Regions from separate parts of the Homo sapiens genome. Here all the other regions are linked to region 2. The links are contacts of gene promoters, found by promoter capture Hi-C in blood cells and fetal thymus (Javierre and others, 2016). All regions are on one chromosome and are shown on one strand. Each heading gives the region's core, a stretch centred on a gene start or on the middle of the fragment in contact. The rest is flanking DNA. Distances are from core to core; before and after follow the strand shown. Region 1 holds the start of EPCART (ERG-positive prostate cancer associated androgen responsive transcript). Region 2 holds the start of NEUROD1 (neuronal differentiation 1). Region 3 has its middle 19 kb from the start of EPCART.

Region 1 (4,343 bases), core at 1,757-4,256, 1.6 Mb after region 2:
TTTCAAAAGTTTGCCCCTTCCTAATTATTATTTCTCCATATGTAGGAGATTGCCTAAATTATTTATAGGTCATGCTGCCTTAGAGATATCTATAGTAATGAAATAAATCCTCAGAATCCAAGAAACCTTTGTCTGGTACACAAGACGCCTTAGTAGTCTATACCTTTTTTTAATTCTCCAAACTGCCCATAAGTCAATGAGTTTGGAAACCAAAAAATCAGTGTGACTTGCTTAGGAAAAGAATCACTTAGGAAAAAAATCACTTGAAAAAAGAGCATTGATCCTCTAAATGAACCAATTTCAAATTTCTATAGTTTTGGCCCTGACATATCCTTAAGTCAAAATGGAAAAGAAATCTGATTCCCTATTCTTTAATTCACTTTCCTTTTTTTCCAGCCTGTTCCACTTTTTCCTTGGGCTCCCTTTTCCCAAAGCTCCCAATTTTCTCACCTAGTCTTTATTCACAGACAATGACTTAATCAACTTTTGTGGGATTAAGGACCTAACAAATTATTTCTTTTAGTACCATTTACATTTCCTAAGTGGTACACCTAGAGAAGGATTAATAAGGTATCACCGAAAGCTTCTGGAGATGGTTTCTAGATGCCCCTTGGTGCAAAGAATTAAGCCTATACTTCTATACTAAGTTGAAGTATATTTCATACTTCACATGTCACAATTATATTTCCCTCCAGCTTTCATTCTACCTATTATTAAGAATTTTACATGGAAACATATAGGATTTTCCAGGATAAAGAAAATCTTTTACAAAGAGTTTCATGAAACTCACTTTGTTCCATACAAAAGGAGTTTTGGTTATAGACCAATATCCAACTCTAGTGAGTAGTTCTACAGTTTTTCAAGCAATTATGATAGAATGTTTTCATTCTCTCTAGTCAGTGTGAGCTCCTAAGATTAAATTCACAGCTTTTCATCAAGGCTGATGTAACTTTCTTACTATCATATCCTTTAAAATAAGGACTGTAGCCTGAGGGTACCTAAGAACATGTGGCAGAAGGCAAAAACAGAAGGTTTTTACAGTTTAGAATATTTTAAACTCAGAATATTGACTATATATTTTTGGTCAGAATTTTTCTTTTAAGTAGCAGTAATATGCCCATTTTGTAGCCACAGTTTTAAATTTTCAGTCTTCACCCCTCCAAAACAAAACAAAACACAAAACAGAACAACAAGTGAGAAGGAGGAGGGGGAAAGAGAGAAGGAGGTGGTGTGGGGTGGAGAGGAGATGATGCCCCCTTCTGTCATACAACAAAATCCATTTCGAATATCGAAACTTGCCAAGATCAAAACTGGCCAAAACAACAAACTCCACTGTTGAAATTGACAGTACGGTATAAGACAATAACCCAGGTTTCTCAATTGAAATAACTTTGCCACAAATTTCATCTCAACGTCTTTAATATCATGGTTCCCAGCCCTTCATGCTCATTAGTATCCCCTGGGAAGATTTAAAGCTGTACTGATGCCCTAAAACCATTCTCCTGATTCTGATGTGGTTGGTCTAGGGTGCAGCCTGGGCATCAGGAGATTTAAAAGCTCCCAGGGAATTGTATGTGCAGGTACTCAGTGTTTATCAAAAGACAGAAGACACAGCTATTCCAGACACCTGTTTGAACTGATTGATGGCAACCCAGCTTCATTAGATGTCTACCTAGTGTTGAATCTTTGTAGCATCCCCCACATTTGTTCCGTGAAACAGGGACAATAGGAGATCACAGTCTTACATAGCTCTCTGACCCATTAATCAACGGGTTGTTCCTCTCTGGTTCTCTCTGTGGGTTCTGACTCATGCTGCAGTAGAGAAAAAAGACAAACAGCCTAGCCAATAAACGACCGCTGCTACGCGATCTCCTTTGACTACAGTAAAGGGCCAGAAACTGCCTTTGGGAGTGCAGAGACAGTGTAGGAACGATGCTGCCATCTGGCTGCCTTCCTGGGCATCTCTTTAAAAAAAAAAAAAAAAAAAAAGTGAGTTACTAATCATACTCTCCTACATTTACACATTAGATACAGGCTTCACTATTCCTTTGCAGTGAGGACTCCTCAGTGACAGGCAGAACCCAAAGGGAGAGCAAAGCAGCCCAAGGGGAGCAGAGCAACCCAAAGGGAAAGCAGAGTAGGCCAAGTAGAACAAATGCTCGCCTTAAACTTTTTTTTCCTTTTTGAGACAGGGTCTCACTCTGTTGCCTAGGGTGGAATGCAGTGGCGCCATCTTGGCTCACTGCAGCCTCAACCTCCCGGGCCCAACGGATTCTCCTACCTCAGCCTTCTGAGTAGCTTGGGACAGCCGTGCACCACCACGCCCAGCTAATTTTTTGTTTGTTTGTTTTTGTACAGACAGGGTTTCAGCATGCTGCCCAGGCTGGTCTTGAACTCCTGGGCTCAAGTGATCCACCTGACTCAGCCTCCCAAAGTGCTGGGATTAAAGGGGTGAGCCACTGTACCTGGCAACACCTTTAAAAATTTCTTCACCCACCTATCCACCTTTAAAGTTGTTCTTTGAGGGCTTTCAGGAATGAGGTTAATCCAAATAGGATAAGGCAGTTTTGTTCCCAGGAAGTATTTAACACACTGGTTCTCAACTTTCCTACACATTAGAATCACCTCGGGGAGGTTTGTGAAAATGCAGATTGCTGGTCTCCACTCCCATCCAATTCAGTAGGTCCGAGCTGAAGTCTGAGAATTTGCAATTGTAACAACCTCCCAGATGACACTGCTGGTCTGGGAAATCACACTTTGAAAACCACTGAACAAATTGTCAAAAAATAATTGCTGACAGTCAGTAATGTAATAAATCCATTAGCCCCCTCCAGCCAAGGAGGGAAGACTGGGTAAAGAAGCCATAGACGGTGGCAGTGACCGGGGTCAAAAGATGTTGCCACTATGGGGTTGTTCCTAGGTATCTATGGAGTAGCATACCAAAAAGGCCAGGTAAGAAGAAGTGGTATGGATGAGGATTAGACGAAAAATGCCTCTTCATTGTTTTGCCTGGGCTCCTCAGAGACTTGTGGGAAATATTGCATCGTCTCTTAACTAAATATTAAATCATCCCTGTGCATCTAATTTAGTGGGGGGCAGACCTGTTTCACAAGCCAAAATAACAGGCTGCAATAACTGAGGATTTTATATATACCCTGACCAAAGAAGTTTGCATTCTCATAGCACCATCTAGTGGAAATTTGGGGATTTTTGTTTTACATCGAACAGCCTAAAATGGAGATAGTTTATGTTATTATGACAGGGAGAGAAGACTGCACGATTTGCTAATTGAGGTGCAATACAGACAAGTAAACAAAAACAGGAAAAATGTGGCTTATGTGAAAGACATTTTTTAACCATATACAACATGTTCTATAAAAACAGAGCAAAGCCGTTAGCTGAGGAACTTGTGTGCACAAAGAAATATGTACAAATAGCTTTTCCAGAACAGTCTAGTAAAAATATGTAGTAAAAGTGGGAAGATTATGTTATATAGAAATATATGTTTATGTGCTGTGTTTATATGCCACAGCCTCAAACCTTCTTATAACTTATTAACAATTATATGAAAATATAGGAACAAAGCTCATGTTCTGTATGAATACAACAGGATTCAAATAACCACATACATTACAAAGAGTTGAATAAATTGAATTCTCTATTTTCTACTGTATAGTCAAGGAAGAGACAGAGTAAGGAGGAAAACAGTTGTCAAATCTGCTGGTGGTTCTGAGAAGGGATCAGAGAGGTAAAAATGCAAGGTGTTAAAAATCTGTTTTACTGGCCCACAAAATGTTGTTTGCAAAACTCTGTTCTAGATGAGCTGATAGTTTAAGGGTAACTGTTTCACTAAATGGTTTGAACTCAATGGATATTAATCAGAAGCAATTTTCTTTTTCTAATCATATGATTGGTCAACTTCTGCTTTCTTGCCCCTGAATGATATCTCAGGCAGATTCCATTGATAATTGATCATTGTCATAGTTCATATAAATCATGTAATTTTACCTAGCTCAGCTTGTAAAACAGGCGCCCCAAAGGGGTCTGGCCTGCCCCTCCTCCCGACTCCAAAACCATGAAGCCAATCTGGTTGCACAAAACCTCTTCTTTCTCCACATCAAGATCTAGCTTCTTTAATGACTTGAGGTGGGATCAGAGGAGAAGAAACAAAATAGTCTCTTCACCCAATTCTTTTTGTTGCAGAATTTTCTGTTGGGTATTGCTGCTCATCTAGAAAACACCAGCTACCAATAGATGTCCTCTCTGTGCCGAAATACTGCTTACCTCAGGGGATATTGGGTAAGTTCAGAAGGCCCTGAAGAGTCTCCCTGACATGGTAAATC
Region 2 (4,520 bases), core at 390-2,889:
GGGAGGGGGTAAGGAGTTAGTTAATGAAGGATTAGAGGCAAAGCTGGGAAAGAACGAGTAGACAGGCCAGTTTCTTTCTTTCTTTTTAAAATCTATTATTCTGGAAAACCCTTGTTCGAAAAGAGTAAAGAATTGCTATTTGGGCAACAATATGGCTCCTTCAGAACTGGTCGAGAATTTCTGTGGTCTTTGCTTGACCTTCAAGTTGGGAGTTTCAAATCAGAGGCTTTGAAGTCTGGAGGAGTTCGCAGCCATTAATCCTTCCGGGGTTGTGCTAAAGGCGTTTCTAGAAAGAGATCGGAAAGACCCGTTCAGCACAGGCCCATTGCATCTTCTCTTTGAAAACGCTTGTCTGAATCAAGTATCTTATACAGACCCGAGACTGAGGGGAGCAAGAGCGCAGGTCCGGCTGTGGCGAGGTGTCCACCACCGTACTTGTGGTCAATGCCTGGACTAGAGAGCCGAGGCCGTCCAGGGCGGGCTGGCCAGGGAACCAGAAGCGTCCCTGGACTGGCTGAGTGAGGGTGCCCTTTCCAGCAACCCAGTGGCCATGGTTAAAAGGCAGAATACAACCGTCAAAGAAGTCCCCAGCTCCCACATAAGAGAGCGCAAAGGCCAATGGAACCAAGGCCTCCTCGCGAGAACTAGCTCGCTTTGAGGACAAGATCCTGGGGATGGAGGTGGGGACTGACGTAGTGAGAGGGTCTGGAGGAACAGTCGTAGCTGAAGGTCAGGACATGAAGAATTGCACGTATGGTAGGGATAGAATGGCAGGTACAACTTTTCTGTACTGAAGGAACTGGGAGAGGACGATCCGGTTAGGGAGGTTGGGGAACTAATCTCAACGCTGCGTTTACAGATGAAGCCGCTTTTATATGGCGTATATGTTTGCTTAGAGGGGCCGACGGAGATTAGGAGAAGCCATCCTTTGGCGCCAATGATCAAAGCGTCTGCCAAGGAGAAGAAGCCAAGGGATGGGCCTTTCAGAGAGGGCAAGGAGTCATGCTGCTCTGGATGCCAGTGTCAGGACAAGAAATCGAAAGGAGCGAGGACTCTTCACTGCGTGCCTCAGTCTCCCCGCTTCTGCCTCTTTCACCTCTGTCCTACTTCCGGCGCGAAAGCAGGCCACTCGCTCTGATCTAGACCTAGTTAACATTAGCTTTTCCCTTCCTTCCCTCAAATCCCCTCCCCCCTCTATCCCCGTCCCTTCTGCCGCCTGAAAGGGTTAATCTCTCCTGCGGGTAAAAACAGGTCCGCGGAGTCTCTAACTGGCGACAGATGGGCCACTTTCTTCTGGCCACAAAGGGGCCGGAATGGAGCGCTCCGCGGCATACAAATGGGCAGGTCACGTGGTTCCAGGCTCTTGGCTGGACCGGGAAGACCATATGGCGCATGCCGGGGAGGAAGGAGGAGGGGCGGGGGTAGGGGTGGAGGGTGAGGGGAGCGGTTGTCGGAGGAGGGCGGGAGACGAGCAAGGCGTGGGGAGAAGTGGGGAGGAGGGGAGAACGGGGAGCGCACAGCCTGGACGCGTGCGCAGGCGTCAGGCGCATAGACCTGCTAGCCCCTCAGCTAGCGGCCCCGCCCGCGCTTAGCATCACTAACTGGGCTATATAACCTGAGCGCCCGCGCGGCCACGACACGAGGAATTCGCCCACGCAGGAGGCGCGGCGTCCGGAGGCCCCAGGGTTATGAGACTATCACTGCTCAGGACCTACTAACAACAAAGGTAATTACAGTTCTTTCATTTTTTTGCCCCAGAATAGAAGCAATAACTGAAGACTGATGAACCTACATATTCTGTATGTGTGCGTTTGCGAGAGTGTGTATGTGTATTGAGACCAGCATCCCCCTCCATAATTGCCCATAAGTACTCACACATAATGAGTCGTGTCACTCAAGTACCCCCTGCAGGCTTTCTAATTTAAATTTTAAAAATTTGGGTTTCTTTTGTGGATAGCATAGGAGCTTCTTGGATTTTTTAAAAGAATGCACGGTAACTATGATTATCTGCTAGTGCTGATTTTAAAGTCCCAAAAGCAATAATGACTTCACTTTCTCACTTCTTACAGTAAGAAAAAAAAATCTATGTTATCAATATATATTTTGTGTGCATGTATTTTACGCACATTGGGAGTGTCAAGCTGTGTTTTCAGTGAATGAAAGGGACATGGATACCTTGAGTATTCACACCATGGAAAATAAATCAGGTTCAGAGATAGTTTAGTTGAGAGGGGGGAAAGTGGAGAAAGGGAGAGGGACTCACTCCTGCTACCTGTTACCGCTCCAGAGGCGGCCAAGTCCCCAGCAGCCACTACTGGAGCCAGAAATTCAGTTGTTTTACTAAAGGCTTTTTATTTTCCTTACTAGAAGCGGCAACTTCGCGGTTGCCAATCGCTGACCATTATAATTACTCAATCTTTTAAAGGGAGGTTTGAGGCGAACTTTGAAAAGCCCCAATAAAGAGCGGGCGGCCCTTTCAATGGGCTGTTTATTAGAGAGGAGCCTTCCGCACCTGATCCCCGGCGCGTGGGAGAGCGCTCTGCGCCGCGCCCCCAGCCCTCGCCCTGCAGCTAGCGCTTTTGTACAAGGTGGAAATTTAGCGGTGGGCCAGAGATGGAAGGCAAGAAAAGAAAGGCGAGGGAGGGGTGGAAGACCCTGTCCACTTTTGTTGCCAAATGTTACATTGATGGTGAAACAATTTGGTGGAAACTATTTTTCCTCCTTTCTGCATTTGCTTTTCAGTATCCCGTCGATGTAATCTTCTTAAAAATCGCTGCCAGTATTAGTAAATTACGCAATGGCTGTTCAACTTAAATCGCTAAGTATCTGGAAGCCAGGACAGAAATGGAAGTAGAATGTGTGATTTTACAGCTTTTTTTTTTTTTTATGGAGTTGTGAGTAACTTTGAACACATTTGGATAAACATGAAGTCGCTGAAATGTACAGTCATTTCCACACACATTATCCTGTCGGGCAACCACCATAAACACATTTAAGTTAATCACTAGGATACAAACACATATGCGTGAGTGGTGTACACATATACATATTCACTACCCTCCCCCAGTCCTGTCCTCACTCCTACGTACTAGCGGGGCACACGCACGCGCCATTATAAAACACTGCATTTAACTTTTTCTCAGAGGCATTCATTTTGTAATGGGCAGGTACTTTTCGCAAGCATTTGTACAGGTTTAGGGAGTGGAAGCTGAAGGCGTATCTGGCTTTTGAATATAGCGTTTTTCTGCTTTTCTTTCTGTTTGCCTCTCCCTTGTTGAATGTAGGAAATCGAAACATGACCAAATCGTACAGCGAGAGTGGGCTGATGGGCGAGCCTCAGCCCCAAGGTCCTCCAAGCTGGACAGACGAGTGTCTCAGTTCTCAGGACGAGGAGCACGAGGCAGACAAGAAGGAGGACGACCTCGAAACCATGAACGCAGAGGAGGACTCACTGAGGAACGGGGGAGAGGAGGAGGACGAAGATGAGGACCTGGAAGAGGAGGAAGAAGAGGAAGAGGAGGATGACGATCAAAAGCCCAAGAGACGCGGCCCCAAAAAGAAGAAGATGACTAAGGCTCGCCTGGAGCGTTTTAAATTGAGACGCATGAAGGCTAACGCCCGGGAGCGGAACCGCATGCACGGACTGAACGCGGCGCTAGACAACCTGCGCAAGGTGGTGCCTTGCTATTCTAAGACGCAGAAGCTGTCCAAAATCGAGACTCTGCGCTTGGCCAAGAACTACATCTGGGCTCTGTCGGAGATCCTGCGCTCAGGCAAAAGCCCAGACCTGGTCTCCTTCGTTCAGACGCTTTGCAAGGGCTTATCCCAACCCACCACCAACCTGGTTGCGGGCTGCCTGCAACTCAATCCTCGGACTTTTCTGCCTGAGCAGAACCAGGACATGCCCCCCCACCTGCCGACGGCCAGCGCTTCCTTCCCTGTACACCCCTACTCCTACCAGTCGCCTGGGCTGCCCAGTCCGCCTTACGGTACCATGGACAGCTCCCATGTCTTCCACGTTAAGCCTCCGCCGCACGCCTACAGCGCAGCGCTGGAGCCCTTCTTTGAAAGCCCTCTGACTGATTGCACCAGCCCTTCCTTTGATGGACCCCTCAGCCCGCCGCTCAGCATCAATGGCAACTTCTCTTTCAAACACGAACCGTCCGCCGAGTTTGAGAAAAATTATGCCTTTACCATGCACTATCCTGCAGCGACACTGGCAGGGGCCCAAAGCCACGGATCAATCTTCTCAGGCACCGCTGCCCCTCGCTGCGAGATCCCCATAGACAATATTATGTCCTTCGATAGCCATTCACATCATGAGCGAGTCATGAGTGCCCAGCTCAATGCCATATTTCATGATTAGAGGCACGCCAGTTTCACCATTTCCGGGAAACGAACCCACTGTGCTTACAGTGACTGTCGTGTTTACAAAAGGCAGCCCTTTGGGTACTACTGCTGCAAAGTGCAAATACTCCAAGCTTCAAGTGATATATGTATTTATTGTCATTACTGCCTTT
Region 3 (4,679 bases), core at 1,551-4,050, 1.6 Mb after region 2:
AAAAAAATTCTAGGGTACTATTAGAGCCAATGTAGAATCACAATAGAATCAAGTTAATAAGTTCTGCCACATGTTCCTTTCTCTCTCACCTAGGACCTTCATATTTTAACCAAAGATACCATCTTAAGAATTACTTTTTCAAAATAAATATTTTACTGATTTGTTTTGACTTTAAACCTTAGGCAAGAGATTGATTGGAGATTTTAGTTTTCATATAATAGCAAATGAGGTGTTTCCTTCTTAAAAACATTCTTCAGGAAAGGAAAAATCTCTTTTCATTAATTCATCTCTAAACCCACAGTGCAAAATGTAAATTTCCCTTACAGATTGAAACATATCAGGTAATCCCTGCATGTCCTTATCTTTCTTAGAGAGATAACTACTGAAGCCTTTTGTTTCTCTCCAGACTGATCATCCGGACTGGGCCAGCAGCATGTGTGTCGGTGATCCCTTGGGTTCCTATCACTTTCATCCTGGGAATTCCCTTGGTGTCTTATCAATGCCTGGACCCTTGTTTCCTGGATCCCATGTCAACTTTCTGGTTTACTCCTTTATTGTGATGAAAATTCCCTAGTTAATTTCTAAGGAAATATGCTTCATAGGCCAATATTTTGAGACTTTGTGTTTAGAAAATTTTTTTAAATCTTCACACTCCATTGACAGTCTTTCTGAACATAAAAATTCTCAAAGTCCTGTCTGTTTTTACTTTTGCTCTATTTTCTGGACATTTCTCAATTTTTCTGACACTTCTAAAGACCTTTTAACATGTCTGTTAGCAATTTTTCTCAAGAATTTTTTTATTCTCAAAGTTTATCTTATGTCTTGTTTGAAGAAAACCATCTCTAGCCAGATGCAATGGCCTGTGCCTGTGGTCCTAGCTACTAGGGAGGCTGAGGCAGGAGGATCGCTTGAGCCTAGCAGTTATGGGAGATGGAGACCAACTAGCCTGAGAAATGTACTGAGACGCTGTCTCTGAAAAGGGGGGTGAAGGAGGATGTATCCTTTTCTTGTTTAGGAGATGCGATATCTTCTGTAGTACATATTACTAACATTAATATCTGGTTCTCCTCCTCTTGTGCACACAAGGGCAGACTACACTTTCCTACACCTTGAAGTTAGCATGGCCATAAGTCTTATTTCAGGCAAATCATTAGAAAAAAACTAATCTTGTCATTTCTAGATGGAAGTATTTAAATGAAGTGGTTAAATCTCCAGTTTTTTCGTATCATAGTGATGCATAGTGATGTATTGATATGAAAATCAAAGCAGCTTGGAATACTGAACCAATACATAGAGAACAGCTAGAGAGTCAGCTGGAGAGACACCTGGGCCTGCATAGATATTGCTCGAGCAAGCAAAAAAAAATTTAGTTGTATTTAGGCAGATTTGGGGGTTGTTTGTTATGCTAGCCTAAGTTATGCTATCTTGACCAATTCAATCACTGGGACCACAGTGGGGCACTGCCATAACAATAAATATCAAATATGTAACATTGGCTCAGTGTCGAGATAGCAGGGAGTGAAGAAACTAATATTGAAGGCAGGAAAGATGGTGATTCGTGCTTTTTAGTGGCAAAATATTTGGTACAACTATGAACCTGGAGAAGGATTATGTTATTTAATGATCTCATATTTCCAAATGTAGAGGAAGGAAAAGTAGAACTAAATTCTGTGATAGGTCTCTGTGGGTAATGCTTGATGGCATATTACAAGAAATACATGAGATCAGAAAAAAAAAACTGTTCAGCCTTCAAGTAGGAATGAAAAGAATGAAAGAAAATTAGCCCAGAAATTGGAGAACATATTAGGTTAGAAGAGAGAACTAATTTTCAAATTTAAAATTAAGAAAGTTTTAAAGCAAGGGAAGCTCATTAAAACTCACCCTTAAGCAAGGATCAAAGTAAGGAGATAGCGGCCATGACCATTACCAAAACCTCTGTGTGGTTTAAATGTTCTCAGGTCACCCAGTAAATTCTTTCAATTGATAAAATAGCATAAGGAGATGTTAAGTGGTGCTTCTCATTAACAATCTTAAGCTGTTAAATAGCCTCAGAAATGAATGCTCCAATCTCCTGCCTGAGGAACATAAGCCTAAGAAGCAATCTTAGCTACGTGGAGGAAGGGAGGGAGCTGGAAGCTTTTATGTTCAATATGAACACTTTGATTTAATCTCACTGTTCAAGATGACACCCATCTTCCTGAACTGAGTCAGATGTCCCAAAGCTCTCTAGATAATAAACCTCCATTTTCCTGCTCAATGCATATAATGTAGTTATTATTACCTCCCATTCCTAGTTCTTTTTTTCTTTCTGAGTTCATCCCCTTTTAATCCCTTCTCTATCATTTTAGTAGAATTACAGGAGAGAACCAAGGTAAACATGTGTCCAATCTACCATGCTTAACCTGATCTACCCTTACCTGGCCTTCCTACTTCCTCTCCAGTGCCCTGTAAATCATTCTCAACACCAGAGCCAGAATGATCTTTTAAAACATAATTCATATCATCTCTTTATTTTAAACTCTCTAGTGGATTTCTATTGCATTTGAGTAAAACTCAACCCACTAATCTGAGCCTTGGGTATATTTCTGATCGCATCTCACATCATTTGTCCCTTCATCCTCTATGTTTAAGCCACTCAAGATTTCTGTATGAACATGCCTAAACCATTTACCTCTTAGGATCTTCTCACTTGCTATTTCTTCTCCCAGGAATCTTCTGTCACTAAGTCTATATAAGTCCAGTTATTTCTCGTTTAGTTCTCAAAATATGACCTCTACAGAAATGTCTTTAACCATGCAGAGTACTAAGTCTACGATAGCCTGATTCCACTGCCTCCCAGTCTCTCTATATAAAATCTCCCTGCTTTATTTTTTGTAGTATTTTTTATTCTCTTAATTATCCCATTAATATATAATATACTATATATTATCTATGTCTTCCTCCAGCCAAATCCCTCTCCAAAAGAATATAAACTCAGGAGATCTTGTTTTCTTATTCTTGAAAACTTACCTACCATGGAATATTACCTGGCAAGATTAAGCCTCTAGTATACCTTTAAATGTTATACTGAGACATGACTGAGTGAATCATGCCTGGACTATATTCTAAATCAGAATTATTTATGTGCTTCATTTATCATTTCTGTCAATTTGGAGACTATTTTTTAAAAGTATATGAGAATATTTCTTCCCTCTATGTAAAAATAATTTCCAGAAGTCTCCCTTCTGATAACAATAGATAAAATACAAAAAATAAAATACAAATAAAAATTAGAGCACTACTGTGACAATGATTGAGGGGGCAAGGTCATGAACAGAAAGGAACCACAGACGGGTAAGCCAACATTCTGTTAGTTCATTTTTCCTTTTATTTGTCAATTCAAAATTAGAGCTTGCAAGAGTAGAGACCAGAATTCCTAGCAGAGAAAAAACCCTGATAAGAAGTGGAGAAGACACCAAAGCTTTTGGCAATATTACTGTAGAAAGAAAGAAATGTAAAACAGTAGAAATGTTAAGTATAAGGAAAAATCTAAATAAATGTCAATGTTAATCAATAACAATAATAATGTCTTATAAAGGTTTGCATATGTGTAGAATTTCAATGGCTGGCCAAAATAACATAAATGGCAAAAGTTGGGGGAGTAAATGTAGTGTTCTAAGTATTTTACATGTCTAGGAAGTAGAAAAAAATACAAATTCATATTTGACTCTATTAAGTAATGAATGTGTGTTTAAAATCACAGGGGTTACCACTGAAAGAATTATTTTTAAGGATGTATAACTATAAAGCTAGTCGACGGCTGGGCGTGGTGGCTCTCACCTGTAATCCCAGCATTTTGAGAGGCCAAGGCAGGCGGATGACTTGAGGTCAGGAGTTCGACACCAGCCTGGCCAACATGGTGAAACCCCATCTCTACAAAAAATACAAAAATCAGCCGGGTGTGATGACGGGCACCTGTAATCCCAGCTACTTGGGAGGCTGAGGCAGGAGAATCACTTGAACCCAAGGAGGCAGAGGCTGCAGTGAGCCAAGATTGCACCACTGTACTCCAGCCGGGGTGACAATAGCAAAACTCTGTTTCAAAAAGTAAGAAGATGAAAATAAAAAGGTAGTTGGAAAAAAAAGAAAATAAATTTTAAGATTTTGATTGATCCAAATGAAGGTTGAAAAAAGAAAAAATTAAAAACAAGTGGGAATTATAAGATAAATGATAAGATGGTAGATACAAAACTCAAATCAGTAATCACATAAAGCACAAATTGACTCATTAGTCCAATTAAAATATTATCAGACTGGATTTAAAAGAAACTATAATGCTAATTACAAGAAACACTTTAAATATACGTGCACAGAGAGGTTGAAGGATGAAAATATGCAAACATGAACCAACAAAAAGTTACTGTAGCTATTTAATACAAAACATACTTGAAGACAAGAAGTATTCCTAGATAGAGAAAGCAATATTTTGTATTTTATGATACTAAGTAATCAATTGACTAGGAATAATTGTAGTTCTAAATTTATATGCACTAAATAATGCAGTTTTAAATATATAAAACAAACGTGTGGCTAGGGGCGGTGGCTCATGCCTGTAATCTCAGCACTTTGGGAGGCTGAGGAGGGCAGATCACCTGAGGTCAGGAGTTTGAGACCAGCCTGGCTAACATGGTGAAACCCCA

The links. The method cuts DNA at HindIII sites, captures the fragments that hold promoters and counts their contacts. A CHiCAGO score of 5 or more calls a contact.
Region 1: a contact is called between a fragment that was not itself captured here and the fragment with the promoter of NEUROD1 in region 2, in 1 of 17 cell types (total CD4 T cells). The highest score is 6.8, in total CD4 T cells.
Region 3: a fragment that was not itself captured here is called in contact with the fragment with the promoter of NEUROD1 in region 2 in 2 of 17 cell types (endothelial precursors and naive CD8 T cells); the score reaches 7.5 in endothelial precursors.

Annotation. Positions count from the first base shown.
Region 1 is chr2:180,123,289-180,127,631 of GRCh38, reverse strand. EPCART (ERG-positive prostate cancer associated androgen responsive transcript) reads left to right here and starts at 2,438. Exons shown (of 4, transcript XR_923634.3): 1 at 2,438-2,952; 2 at 4,204-4,299. The HindIII fragment of the contact is 4,841 bases long and covers 586-4,343 here.
Region 2 is chr2:181,677,636-181,682,155 of GRCh38, reverse strand. NEUROD1 (neuronal differentiation 1) reads left to right here and starts at 1,639. Exons shown (of 2, transcript NM_002500.5): 1 at 1,639-1,726; 2 at 3,285-4,520. The coding sequence starts at 3,296. The coding sequence ends at 4,366. RefSeq lists an enhancer at 413-989. The HindIII fragment of the contact is 9,386 bases long and covers 1-4,483 here.
Region 3 is chr2:180,103,676-180,108,354 of GRCh38, reverse strand. No RefSeq gene overlaps it. Among named protein-coding and RNA genes, the nearest start is that of EPCART, 19 kb to the left of the region's middle. The HindIII fragment of the contact is 1,324 bases long and covers 2,139-3,462 here.